3 separate regions of the Homo sapiens genome follow, and regions 2 and 3 are each linked to region 1. Evidence: promoter capture Hi-C in 16 types of primary human blood cells and fetal thymus (Javierre and others, 2016). All regions are on one chromosome and are shown on one strand. Each heading gives the region's core, a stretch centred on a gene start or on the middle of the fragment in contact. The rest is flanking DNA. Distances are from core to core; before and after follow the strand shown.

The links. Contacts are between HindIII fragments. The CHiCAGO score rates a contact against its expected background, and 5 or more counts as called.
Region 2: a contact is called between the fragment with the promoter of SNRNP35 here and the fragment with the promoter of RILPL1 in region 1, in 1 of 17 cell types (total CD4 T cells). The highest score is 5.6, in total CD4 T cells.
Region 3: the fragment with the promoter of RILPL2 here is called in contact with the fragment with the promoter of RILPL1 in region 1 in 1 of 17 cell types (total CD4 T cells); the score reaches 5.3 in total CD4 T cells.

Annotation. Positions count from the first base shown.
Region 1 is chr12:123,531,404-123,535,624 of GRCh38, forward strand. RILPL1 (Rab interacting lysosomal protein like 1) reads right to left here and starts at 2,316. Exons shown (of 7, transcript NM_178314.5): 1 at 1,771-2,316. The coding sequence starts at 2,079. RefSeq lists an enhancer at 1,317-2,134 and silencers at 2,350-3,039, 3,059-3,244. The HindIII fragment of the contact is 17,367 bases long and covers 1-4,221 here.
Region 2 is chr12:123,455,854-123,460,470 of GRCh38, forward strand. It overlaps SNRNP35 (small nuclear ribonucleoprotein U11/U12 subunit 35), which reads left to right and starts at 2,286. Exons shown (of 2, transcript NM_022717.4): 1 at 2,286-2,363. RefSeq lists enhancers at 1,973-2,839, 2,514-2,593, 2,840-3,705. The HindIII fragment of the contact is 10,721 bases long and covers 1-2,351 here.
Region 3 is chr12:123,434,316-123,439,002 of GRCh38, forward strand. RILPL2 (Rab interacting lysosomal protein like 2) reads right to left here and starts at 2,369. Exons shown (of 4, transcript NM_145058.3): 1 at 1,767-2,369. The coding sequence starts at 2,105. RefSeq lists an enhancer at 1,345-2,274 and a silencer at 2,116-2,375. The HindIII fragment of the contact is 15,954 bases long and covers 1-4,687 here.

The DNA.
Region 1 (4,221 bases), core at 1,066-3,565:
TGGGGGACAGTATAGGTGCCAGGACTTCTGTGTGATCTGGTCAAAGCCCCTTGGTCCCTGTTAATAAGAGGCGCCACACGAGAGAATTTCCAAGGTCCCTTGCCTCCTTGACCCTCTATGAGAGATGGAGGCCTCTAGGGTAGGAGTAGAGGTGCTTGGGGTGGGGACGGTTTCCTAATATGAGCCTGTGAGCACCTCAATGAATGTCTCTCCAGGCCTAAAAAGAATTTTAAGACTTGCAAAGCCCTTGCTATGGGCAGGCTCTGTCCTGAACACTTTATATGTATTTATATTAACTCTTTAAACCTCATCACATTCTAATGGGGGTACTATTACTATCCCATTTTAGAACTGAGGAAACTGAAGCACAGAGATGCTGGGTGATTTGCCCAAGATCACACAGCCTGCAAGTGGTAGGGTTTGAAACCAGGCTGTCTAGCTCCAAAGTCCTAGCTTCTAGGAGTCTTGAAATTAATTACAGGTCAAAGCATTTTCAGGCTCCCAGAGTGACCTCGGAAATGCTGCTCAACTCTTGGGAGCCTGAGTTTCCTTCCTGCCCCTAGGGCATAGGGACCCATGAGGACGAGCACAGTCAAACATGGCAATGGTGCTGTTACCTACCTGTGGGTCTGCCCTCAGGTAAAGGGTTCAGACCCAGCTTTGGCTATTTTACTCCAAAACACAGAGATCCATCAAAGTACACAATAAGGGATGGCCTGCCCCTGAGGTTCAGAGAGGCCATCTGTATTTCCTGAGGCTGAACAGCAAGCTGGAGACTGCTCAGGCACCCTGATCCCTCAAGGAAAGGTGTTTCCTCCCATTCTCAGTCTGAAGGGGCTGCCAAGAGCATCCCTGGCTGAGGTTAGGGCAGGAAACCACATGTCTTTCACTTCCTTTTCTCCAGAAACCTCGTCTGAACTCCAGGCCCAGTGGGGAGGCCCTGATTCAGAGAGACTCCTGATCACAGGGCAGAGGCTTAGCCTTAAAGCCACCCCAAATCATCCCTTTCCCCCAATTCAAACAGGGTGGGGAGGAGACACGGGGGCTGGGACTCTCTCACCACTAATTTGGGACAAATTGCTCCTCCCACTGTGACCCTCGGTTTCTTTATCTGTAAAATGAAGATAGTCTCTATAGAGTCCTGTGAGGATTAAGGATAAAATCAGAGGAGAGAACACGGGCTACCACAGGTTCATAAGCTAGGGGAGTCCCGGGAAGAAAGTTGCAAATATGAACCCGAAGACTAGGGGTCACGAAGCTCAGTGGCTGGAGGTCACATTCCCTTTGCTCTGGGGAGACTGGGGGGGGGGGGGATGAAGAAAGGGTCCTGGGCCTGATGTCACATCTTCTTGGTAACTCGGGAGGCCAAGAGGCTTATTTCATGTCTGGAAGAGAATAATATGTCTAAGCACTTAGCTTATATGGTCCCATTTAATTCTTCTAAGGTGGGTCCTATTATGATTACCATTTGACAGGTGAGGAAATAAAGCACAGAGAGGTTAAGTAACTTACCTAAAGTCACACAGCTATTAAACGGTAAAGGTGGGATTGGAACTCCAGAGAACAGCTCTTAATCTCTCGGGTGGTATCTGCCAGCCACCCCTGGTCGGGCAAAAGAAGGCCAGGGCCTCCCTCCCTCCCCACGTCGGGTCTCCTCTGGTCCGGTCCCTGAACACACACACGTGCGCACCCACAGCTGCCCAATGCGGAAGAGCCCTTGGGTCCCCGCGGTCCCACTGCCCGGACGGACAGACCGAGGCCGCCGCCCACCTTCTGGTGCTTGCGCTCCTTCTCGATGCGGTCCATCCTCTCCAGGCGCAGGCGGTCCAGCTCCAGGCGCAGCTCGTCCAGCTCGGGCGCGACGTGGTGGCGGCTGACCAGCACCTCCAGGATCTCCAGGACGCGCACGACCTTGGGCATGAGGCGCGCGATGGCCTCGCAGCCGTGCTGGTCAATGACCCGCTCGAACTCGTGGCCCACAAGCGACGCGATGTCGTACACGTCCATGACGGTCAGCTCGGCCACGTTCTTCTCCAGCGCCGACTCGGCCGCCAGCGCCGACCCCCGCTCCTCCTCCATGGCCACCCTCCTGGCCTGTCCCCCGCCCCGCAAACTCGTGCAACTCCCAAACTTGCCGCTGTCGAGGGCCGGGCCGGCCGGGCCCAGCCTGGGCCGCGGGCGGGCGCGCTCAGCGGGCGCTGGGGCGAGGGCGCAGCGGGCAGCGGGCGGCGGGCGCGGGCGCGGGCACGGGCGGCGGCGCGGGGTGTGCGGGCCCGGGGTCTGGGCGCCCGGCTCGGCCCGGAGCTGCTCCCGAGTGGGCGGCGGCGGCGGCGGCGGCGGCGGCGGCAGCGGGGAGGGCGCGCGCGTGCGCAGGCCCGCGGCGCCTCCCAAGTTGGGATCCGAGTTGCGCTCAATGGAGCCGGGCCGGGCGCCTCGGGGCGGTGCGGGCCTGAGGGGCGGCAGAGCGCGGGGCCGGAGAGGAAGGGCGGCCCGCGGCTCCTCCGGGAAACTTTGGCGGCGGCGGCTGCGAGGCCGGGTGATCGCTTCCCCACAGGGAGGCCGCGCGCCCCGCCCCAATCCCGGCCTGGCCAGGGGCGCGCCCGCTTTCCGCCGCCCGGGGGCGCCCCGGGGTACCCCCCCAAGCGCCGACTCCGCGGCCTGCACTCCGGGCCCCCCTCTCCAGCCGCCGGACCCGCGGCGCCCCTCACCCGTGCCCCGGCCGCCCCTCCCCCGCCCGGCGCTGACTCCTCCCACCACCCGGCCGCCGGGAGGGGTCCAGGCCGCCCCGGGAGAGGGGGCCGGGGGCGCTGGTCTCGCGGGACGATTCGCTGCTCCGGGTAGCGGCCCCGGCCTTGGAGAGGGATGGAGGGGTCACGAGGAGGTCCCCGGGCTGGGGCTCATCCCAGGAAGAGAACGGGGACCCCCCCCGGCCCGCAGACACTCCGCGCAGACCCGGCCACCAGGCGGACTTGCAGAGGCGCCCGGAGAGGGGCCGACGTGTCGAGGAATGCTGGATCCCCGGAGCCCCAGGGCGCGCCTCCCCGAGCCACATCCATCACTGGCTCCTTGTGACATGAACGCCACTTCACAGTAGAGCGAAGCCCGCTTGGCATTCCAGCACCACGAGTTCTCTTGTCCCAAGGCCCCCTGTCCATTTGGGCTGGCCAAATCCACTTGTCCATCAGACCCCCTCCCACTCCCGGGAGAACGTTTCCTGAACCCAGAACCCCATCCACCCTCCCCGCCCCCCACGCAGGAGTTAAGGACCCCCTTGCAAACTCACAGTCCCCTGCTTGCCCCATCAGGATTGCTCTTAGCATCCTGAGTTTTCACCGTGTGGTTGCAGGTAGGTTTCCACCGTCAGATCTTGGCTCCTTGAGGGAAGAAATCTTAATGCCCTTGTAGCCATAAAGCGCACCCCAACGTGGCACGTATTGATTAAAAATCTAAAAGTTGGCCGGGCGCGGTGGCTCACGCCTGTAATCCCAGCACTTTGGGAGACTGAGGTGGACGAGGTCAGGAGTTCAAGACCAGCCTAGCCAAGGTGGTGAAACCCCGTCTCTACTAAAAATACAAAAATTAGCCGGGCATGGTGGCGCATGCCTGTAATCCCAGCTACTCAGGAGGCTGAGGCAGAGAGTTGCTTAAACCCGGGAGGCGGAGGTTGCAGCAAGCCGAAATCGCGCCACTGCACTGCAGGCTGGGTGACAGAGCAAGACTCCATCTCAAAATAATAATATAATACAATAAATAAATAAATAAATAGTAAAAAAAAAAAAATTAAGGCCAGGCGGGGTGGCTCACGCCTGTAATCCCAGCACTTTGGGAGGCCGAGGTGGGAAAATTTCTAGAGCTCAGGAGTTCGAGACCAGCCTGGCCAACATGGTGAAACCACGCCTCTACTAAAAATACAAAAATTAGCCAGACATGGTGGCATGTGCCTGTAATCCCAGCTACTCAAGAGGCTGAGGCGCGAGAATCATTTGAGCCTGGGAGGCAGAGGTTGCAGTGAGCCAAGATCGTGCCACTGCACTCCAGCTTGGGCAACAAGAGCGAAACTCCGTCTCAAAAAAAAAAAAGAAAAAAAAAAAAGTAAAATAAAAAAATTAGCCAGACGTGGTGGTGAGAGCCTGTAGTCCCAGGTATTTGGGAGGCTGAGGTGGGAAGATCCCTTGAGCCTGGGAGGCAGAGGTTGCAGTGAGTTGAGATCACACCACTATG
Region 2 (4,617 bases), core at 1,036-3,535, 76 kb before region 1:
CCGCCTCCTGGGTTCAAGTGATTCTCCTGCCTCAGCTTCCTGAGTAGCTGGGATTACAGGCACGCGCTATGACACCTGGCTAATTTTTGTATTTTTAGTAGAGATGGGGTTTCACCATGTTGGCGTGGCTGGTCTTGAACTTCTGGCCTCAAGTAATCTGCCTTCCTTGGTCTCCCAAAGTGCTGAGATTATAGGCGTAAGCCAACGTGCCTGGTTCTTTTTTTTTTTTTTTTTTTTTTTTTTGAGATGCAGTCTCGCTGTGTCGCCTAGGCTGGAGTACCATGGCGCAATCTCGGCTCACTGCAACCTCTGACTCCCAGGTTCAAGCTATTCTCCTGCCTCAGCCTCCCAAGTAGCTGGGATTACAGGTGCCCGCCAGCACACCCAGCTAATTTTTGTATTTTTAGTAGAGATGCGGTTTCACTATGTTGGCCAGGCTGGTCTTGATCTCCTCACCTCGTGATCCTCCCAACTTGGCCTCCCAGTGTGCTGGGATTACAGGCCTTAGCCTCCTCGCCCGGCCAGTCTGTTTTAACTATTAAATAACATTAGGTAGATTCACATTGTTGTGAAACCATCTGTACTATCTATTTCCAGAACTTCTTCATCATCTCAAATTGAACCTCTGTATCTGTTAAACAATACCTCGCCATCTTCCTAACACCCACAGCAGCCCCTGATAACCACTGCTGTACTTTCCAACCATGAATTTGACTATCCTAGGTCCCTCATATAAGTGGAACCATACAGTATTTGTCCTTATGCTTCTTTCACTTAGCATGGTTCATCCATGAACTACGTTCATTCATGATGTTGTAGCAATTAGAATTTCATTTCTTTTTAAGGAGAAATAGTATTCCATTGCATGTACTGTACATACCACGTGTGTGTGTGTGTGTGTGTGTGTGTGTGTGTGTGTGTGTGTGTGTGTGTGTTTAAAAGCATAGGGGTCAGCCAGGTGTGGTGGCTCACGCCTGTAATCCCAGCACTTTGGGAGGCCAAGGCAGGCAGATCACTTGAGATCGGGAGTTCAAGACCAGCCTGACCAACATGGAGAAACCCCATCTCTACTAAAAATACAAAATTAGCCGGGCATGGTGGCACATGCCTGTAATCCCAGCTACTCGGAAGGCTGTCAGGAGAATTGCTTGAACCTGGGAGGCGGAGGTTGCGGTCAGCCGAGATCGTGCCATTGCACTCCAATATGGGCAACAAGAGTGAAACTCTGTCTCAAACAAAACAAAACAAAAACAAACAAACAAACAACAACATAGGGGTCTTGCTCTGTTGCCCAGGCTGACAGGCTGAACTTGAACTCCTGGCCTCAAGCCTCACGACTCAGCCTCCCTAGTAGCTGAAACTGCAGATGGCCTCCACTGACAGTGGCTACCATATATTTTCAAACATAAAATTTTAAGCTATAGATTTTTCTTTTTTTTGAGACGGACTTTCACTCTTGTTGTTCAGGCTGGAGTGCAATGGCACCATCTCAGTTCATCGAAACCTCTGCCTCCCGGGTTCAAGTGATTCTCCTGCCTCAGCCTCCTGAGTGGCTGGGATTACAGGCACATGACACCATGTCCAGCTAATTTTGTATTTTTAGTAGAGAAGGGGTTTCTCCATGTTGCTCAGGCTGGTCTCGAACTCCGAACCTCAGGTGATCCGCCCGCCTCGGCCTCCCGAAGTGCTGGGATTACAGGCGTGAGGCATGCCACCTGGCCTTTTTTTTTTTTTTTTTTTTTATAAAGAAATTGGGGCCGGGCGCGATGGCTCACGCCTGTAATCCCAGCACTTTGGGAGGCCGAGGCGGGCGGATCACTTGAGGTCAGAAGTTCGAGACCAGCCTGGCCAACATGGCAAAACCCTGTCTCTACTAAAAATACAAAAAATAGCCGGGCGTGGTGGCGGGCGCCAGTAATCCCAGCTACGCGGGAGGCTGAGGCAGGAAAATCACTTGAACCCGGGAGGCGGAGGTTGCAGTGAGCCGAGTTCGCACCACTGCACTCCAGCCTGGGCGACAGAGGGAGTCTCCGTCTCAAGAAAAAATAATAAATAAGAATAAATAAATAATAAAGTAAAATGTCCCAGGTAACTGCATATTCGATAGTCTTTCTTTCAACTTAGTTGTTGAATTAGCAATTTTTCTCTTAAAAAAATTTTTTTTTAGCTTATTGTCTTCGGAGATGATAACACCCTCGTTGCGTGGGAGTAAAATTTTAAAGGTAAAACAAACAGGAAACGAGCGTCGGCGGCGAATCTGCTGCTACCAATGTAAAGGTCAGGCCGAGGCCGGCGCGGAGAATCTGCTGTCGCCTGCAGCTGCTCGCCTGTCTCCGTCGGAAGGGAGCCCAAGCTTTGCAGAGGTGAGTGGAAGCGGCTTGGAAGGAGCGGGCCCCACGCCGGAGAGAAGGAAGAGGGAGTGCGGCCCAGACGCTGTGCCCGCGCTTGTGTGGGGCGCCATGTTGAAACCTGGCAAAGGGGACGACATTCTGGGTTGCGTTGCGGGGAGTGGGGACGAGAGCTGGATTGGAAGGATGGCGCCTTACTCCCTGCGGCCCCCAGAGAAGGAGAGGGGCGGGGGAGCGGCCTCGAGGGTTGGCGGCCAGGCTGCAGGCTGGATGGGAAGGATAGGCTTTTCCACAGAAACTTAGGTGTTTGCCTCCGAGGCCCACTGCGCATGCCCTGGAGGGCTCTGTGGGTTCCGCCTTCAGTTTTGCTTTTCACAGGAGGGGCAAAGTCTTTTTTTTTTTTTTTTCCTTTTTGAGACAGTCTTGCTCTGTCGCCCGGGCTGGAGTGCAGTGGTGCGATCTCGGTTCACTGCAACCTCCGCCTCCTGGGTTCAAGCGATTCCACTGCCTCAGCTTCCCGAGTAGCTGAGACTACAGGCGCCCGCCACCACGCCCTGCTAATTTTTTGTATTTTACTGGAGACGGGGTTTCACCATGTTAGCCAGGATGGTCTCGATCTCCTGTCCTCGTGATCCACCCGCCTCGGCCTCCCAAAGTGCTGGGATTACAGCCGTCAGCCACCGTGCCCGGCCAGGAGGGGCAGAGTCTTACCCCGAAGACCCAGGAAGGAGAGGCTTCATTTATTTTTTTGTTTTTCCCCAGAGACAGGGAGTCGCCCAGGCTGGAGAGCGGTGGCGCGATCTCGGCTCACTGCAGCGTCGACATTTCGGGTCAAGCAGTCCTCCCGCCTCAGCCTCTCAAGTATCTGGGACCACAGGCGCGACCCCACGCCCGGAGAATTGATTATTGATTGATTGATTGAAACGGGGTCTCACTTTGTTGCCCAGGCTGGTCTCGAATTTCTGGGCTCAAGCGATCCTCCAGCCTCGGCCTCTCAAAGTGCTGGTATTACAGGCGTGAGCCAGCGCGTGCCTGGCCAAAAATTTTCTAAATTTGTATAATAATTTATAATTGTAATGCATTTTTATAGACACCATATGATCTAATCTTCACAAAAACCTAGTGAAGTGACATTTAGCTACATTTCACAATAAGAATCCTGAAGCTCAAAATTTACTGACCTCAAATAATCCACCCGCCTTGGCCTCCCAAAGTGCTGGGATTACAGGCATGAGCCACCGCGCCCTGGCCCCCACCATTCATTTCGGCTCTCATCCCCTGTTGATGAGTAAAATGAGAATGAGGCCCAGGCGCGGTGGTTCACGCCTGTAATCCCAGCACTTTGGGAGGCTGAGGCAGGCGGGTCATCTGACATCAGGAGTTTGAGACCAGCTTGGCCAACATGGTGAAATCCTGTCTGTACTAAAAATGCAAAAATTAGCTGGGCGTGGTGGTGTGTGTCTGTAATCCCAGCTACTCGGGAGGCTGAGGCAGGAGAATCACTTGAACCTGGGAGGCAGAGGTTGCAGTGAGCCGAGATTGGCCATTGCACTCCAGCCTGGGTGACAGAGTGAGACTTTGTCTCGAGTAAAAAAAGAGAATGTAAAAATCGAAAGAGATTGTTGTAGGAAATCTCAACCTAATGCTGCCGGGGAGGAAGTGCACCTAGAAAGATTAATGAGAAACAATGAAACCAGCTGTTAGTATCTATAGAAGCATGCAGATGAGAGAGAGAACAAAATCCATGCTTATCCGTTTGTAATTCTCCTCCATTTTAATTTGAAGAAGTCTTAAAGTTTTGAACAGGAGCTCTGTGTACAATAATATCAGTTTTATTTGGTAGATCCTTGTGACTCCTGACTTCAAATGATCCGCTCATCTTGGCCTCCTCAAGTGCTAGGATTGCTGGCGTGAGCCACTGCACCGGGCCCCTTGTGACTTTTTAACGTTGAATGGGGAGGGGTTCTTTTCCTTCAGGAGAGGAGGGGTGGGTCTCAGCCTCAGACACCCAGAATACTGGTTTGTGTGTTTTCTTTTTCCTATCTTTATCTCCAAAACCTTATATTTTATGAAAAGCATCAGAGGAAACGATTAAGAGCTTTAGCTCTGGAGTCCACACTGCCCCTGGTTCTAACTCCTCCACTGGGCTACTTCTTAGCTTTAGGATTTGGGGCACAGGCTGCCTTTTTGTGTCTGACCTTTTTCATCTGAAAAGGCAATAATAATATAGTACCTAAGTCCTGGTATTGTTGAGAAGTGAGAGGAGTTA
Region 3 (4,687 bases), core at 1,119-3,618, 97 kb before region 1:
GCTGAAGTGGGAGGACTGCTTGAGCCCAGGAGTTTGAGGCCTCAGTGAGCTGTGATCACACCATGGTATTCCAGCCTGGATGACAGAGAAAGCTGTCCCCGCAAAAAAGACTTTTTTTTTTTTTTTGAGACAAAATCTCGCTCTGTCACCCAACCTGGAGTGCAGTGGCGCGATCTCGGCTCACTGCAACCTCTGCCTTCCGGTTTCAAGCAATTCTCCGGCCTCAGCCTCCCGAGTAGCTGGGATTACAGGCACCCGCCACCACGCCCGGCTAATTTTTTTCTGTAGTTTTAGTAGAGATAGAGTTTCACCATGTTGGCCAGGCTGGTCTCAAATTCCTGACCTTGTGATCTGCCCGCCTTGGCCTCCCAAAGTGCTGGGATTACAGGCGTGAGTCACAGCACCCAGCCAGATGATTTTTAACATATGTGTAGATCCCTATATCCATACCCTGATTAAGATATGGGACACTTCTAGCTCTCTATCAATTTCCCTTCTTTTCCCCCCACCACCAGTTTGCCTTCTATAACTATAAATTATTTTGCCTGTTCATGAATTTTATTTAAATGTACAGTAGGGCTGGGTGCTGTGGCTCAGGCCTGTAATCCCAGCACTTTGGAAGGCTGAGGTGGGTGGGTCACTTGAGGCCAGGAGTTTGAGACCAGCCTGGCCAACATGGTGAAACCCCGTCTCTACCAAAAAAGAAAAAAAAAAAATAGCCACGCGTGGTGGCACACGCTTGCAATCCCAGCTGCTCAGGAGGCTGAGGCAGGAGAATCGCTTGAATCCAGGAGGTGGAGGTTGCAGTGAGTCGAGGTCACGCCACTGCACTACAGTCTGAGCAACAGAGCAAGATTCTGACTCAAAAAAAAAAAAAATCTACAGTAGTTTCTCTTTAGTGCCTGGCTTCTTTCTCTCAATGTTACATCTGTGAGATTCATTCACACTGCTGTGTGTATCAGCACCCCGTTCTTTTTCTCTGTTGCATAGTATTCCATATATCACAATTTCAAAACTCAATTGGGTTGCATTTAGAGTGTTTCCAGTTTGGCAGCTGAGACTAAAGCTGCTCTGAATCTTCTTGTCTATGTCTTTTTGTGGTCATATGCACTAATTTCTCTTTAGGTAAAATGTGTTTCTTGTCCAAGTGTGGTGGCTCACATCCACAAGCCCAGCACTTTGGGAGGCCAAGGTGGGAGGATTCCTTGAGCTTAGGAGTTTGAGACCAGCCTGGGTAACGGTGAGACCCCCATCTCTACAAAACATCAAAAAAGTTAGCCAGGCATGGTGGCACATGCCTGTACTCCCAGCTACTTGGAAGGGCAAGGCAGGAGAATTGCTTGAGCCTAGGAGGCCAAGGCTGTAGTGAGCCGTGTTTGCACCACTGCACTCTAGCCTGGGAGATAGAGCAGGACCCTGTGTCAAAAGAAAAAAAAAGTGTTTCTTGCTCTAGGTCAAAGGTTCTCAAACTGTGGACCCTGGGCCAATAGCATCAGCATTAACTGCGAACTCGTTAGAAATACAGATTCTGGCCAGGCAGGGTGGCTCACACCTGTAAACCCAGCACTCTAGGAGGCTGAGGCTGGGGGATCACTTGGAGCCAGGAGTTTGAGACCAGCCTGGGCAACACAGCGAGATCCCATCTCTTAAAAAAAGAAAAAAGAGAAAAGAGAAGAGAAAAGAAAAGGAAGGCGTCTCCCTGCCAGTAGGTGCCCTCCTACGCCCCGCAGGCGCCGTGGGCCCGGAACCCTCGCTCCCACACTCACCTCCCCGCTGGCCGGAGGGCTCTGTCTCCGCAGCCCCTCCACCTCCTTCCTGAGGTGGTCCCTCTCCATCTTCAGCTCCTCCAGCGCCAGGCTGCCCTCATTCACCAGCGCCTCCAGCATCTCCAGGACGCGGACGACTTTGAACTGCAGCTGCGTCACCCGGGGGTCGCTGCCCAGGGCCATAAGCTCGCGGCCCAACAGGTAGGAGATGTCATACACGTCCTCGGCGGTCAGCTGGAAGGGGCTCTTGCCCAGCGCCCCCTCGGGCCCAACCTCGTCCCTCTCCTCGTCCTCCTCTCCCTCCTCCTCTTCCTCTTCTCGCACAGGGGGCTCCTCCATGGCCACCCAGACCCCCGCCGACCTCGGAGCTGCTGTCTTGGAGTCTCCCAAAGGTTAGACTTCCTCCCGGCACCCAAAACTTTCCGCTGGGCAGAGTCCCTACCTGCCCAATCAGCGCGGCCCGGGGGTGGGCCCGGGGGGATGGTGCAAGGGGCCGCGCACGCGACTCTTGGGCCTGCGCCCCGGCGCACCGTCCCCGCTGCCAGCCACGCTGGAGAGTGCGCTCCAGGATGTGGTTTGGGGCGCGAAGGGACAACGGAAAAGGAGGCAGCCGAGAAGAGGAACGGGGAAGTTCAGGGGTGACGGCAATCGCCCCAGCCTGGGAACAGTTGCAGCCCCGGGGAGGAGCCGCCCTGAGCCCCGCCCCTGGCGACCGCTGCCAGGAGGTGCGTTTCCGTGGAGACGGAGTTTCCACCGTGCAATCCAGAGCGGGGTAAAAAGAACGCAACTTTTTCCTTTCCACCCTCGTGCTTTCCAGCCGTAGAATTTGCATCGTAGGTGATGGAAGATCCGGGTGTCTCTTTGAGGGTGTTTTCTGGAGCCTGCGGCCAAACAGAAAGCAGCTGCTGGGGGCAGCGCGACAGAGTCCCCGAGGCTTGAGGATCTGGAAAACTCCCAGGCAAATTGTCACTAGGGCCTGGGGCGTCCGACTTCGCTGTGACTCTCAATAAAATGGAGAATGTCTGCCCTGCTCACTTCGCTGGGTCCTCGGCTCCTCCACGTAACCAGCGCTGTCACCTTGGCAAGTTACTTAACGTCTCCGAGCCTCAGTCTCCTCCTCTGTAAAATGGGGACAATAGCGGGACCCAGGTGGCAGGGTTGCTGCGAGGAACATGAGCTTATGAGATCATGTGTGCGACACCTCAAGCACTTAGGAAGCACTCACATACGTGACTGCAATCCTTCATTCTTTCTTTCTTTCTTTCTTTCTTTTTTTTTTTGAGACGGAGTCTCCCTGTGTCGCCCAGGCTGGAGTGCAGTGGCGCGATCTCGGCTTGCTGCAAGCTCCGCCTCCCAGGTTCACGCCATTCTCCTGCCTCAGCCTCCCGAGTAGCTGGGACTACAGGCACGCGCCACCACGCCCGGCTAATTTTTTTGTATTTTTAGTAGAGACGGGGTTTCACCATGTTCGCCAGGATGGTCTCGATCTCCTGACCTCGTGATCCACCTGCCTCGGCCTCCCAAAGTGCTGGGATTACAGGCGTGAGCCACCGCGCCCGGCCCCTTCATTCTTTCTTCCACAGCGCTAGGGAGGAATTGCTGGTGTTGGAGACACCTTGCTACTTGGGTGAGAGAAGGAGGAGTAATTAACAAGAGAGAAACCCCTGTCTGAAAATCACAAAGCATTCGACACATATGCGGAATCCATATTACTGAGAATATTAGCAGAGTGGCGTAGAAACTTGAGTCATTCGCTGTGGCTCATGCCTTAATCTCAACACTTCAGGAGGCTGACGCAGGAGGATTGCTTGAGCCCAGGAATTTGAGACTAGCTTGGGCATCATAGTGAGACCCTGTCTCTACAAAAAGTAAACAAAAGTAGCTGGACACAGTGGTTCATGCCTGTAGTGGCAGGTACTCGGGAGGCTGAGGTGGGAGGACCACTTGAGCCCGGGATGTTGAGGCTGCAGTGAGCCAAGATCTCACCACAGAGTGGTGCCTGTGACAGAGTGGGACCATGGTGACAGAGTAAGATCATGTCTCAAAAAAAAAGGCACAACAAATCTCAAGTTATTTTAGGTTTCACTGGAGGTTTGTGATAGTCTCAGGCAGAAAGCTCAGCAACGGGGCTTGTCTTTCCCAGGAATGTATTGGCAGCTTTCCTTGTGATAGGTGTATCCATTTTCTCCACACTGAGGTACTAGAATCTCAATGGAGAATGTACATAGATTAAACCAACCAACAAAAGCAAAGCAAATTAACAAAACACACTATTTTCAGAGGGTCGTTTCTTTTTATTTTATTTTATTTTATTTTATTTATTTGTTTATTTATTTATTTAGAGACAGAATCTTGCTCTGTTGCCCAGGCTGGAGCTCAGTGGCATGATCTCGGCTCACCGCAACCTCCGCCTCCCTGGTTAAAGCAATTCTTCTACCTCAGCCTCCCCAGTAGCTGGGACCACAGGCGCATGCCGCCCCGCCTGGCTAATTTTTTGTATTTTAGTAGAGATGGGGTTTCACTGTGCTGCCCAGGCTGGTCGCGAACTCCTGAGCTCGGGCAATCCTCCCACCTGGGCCTCCCAAAGTGCTAGGATTACGGGCGTAAGCCACCCTGCCTGGCCTATTTTACTTTTATAAAATAAAAAAGTCAGGCCGAGATGGGCGGATCACGAGGTCAGGAGACCGAGACCATCCTGGCTAACACGGTGAAACCCTGTCTCTACTAAAAATACAAAAAAAATTAGCCGGGTGTAGTGGCGGGCGCCTGTAGTCCCAGCTACTCGGGAGGCTGAGGCAGGAGAATGGCGTGAACCCGGGGACAGAGCTTGCAGTGAGCCGAGATCGCGCCACTGCACTCCAGCCTGGGCAACAGAGCAAGACTCGGTCTCAAAAAAAATAAATAAAAATAAATAAATAAAT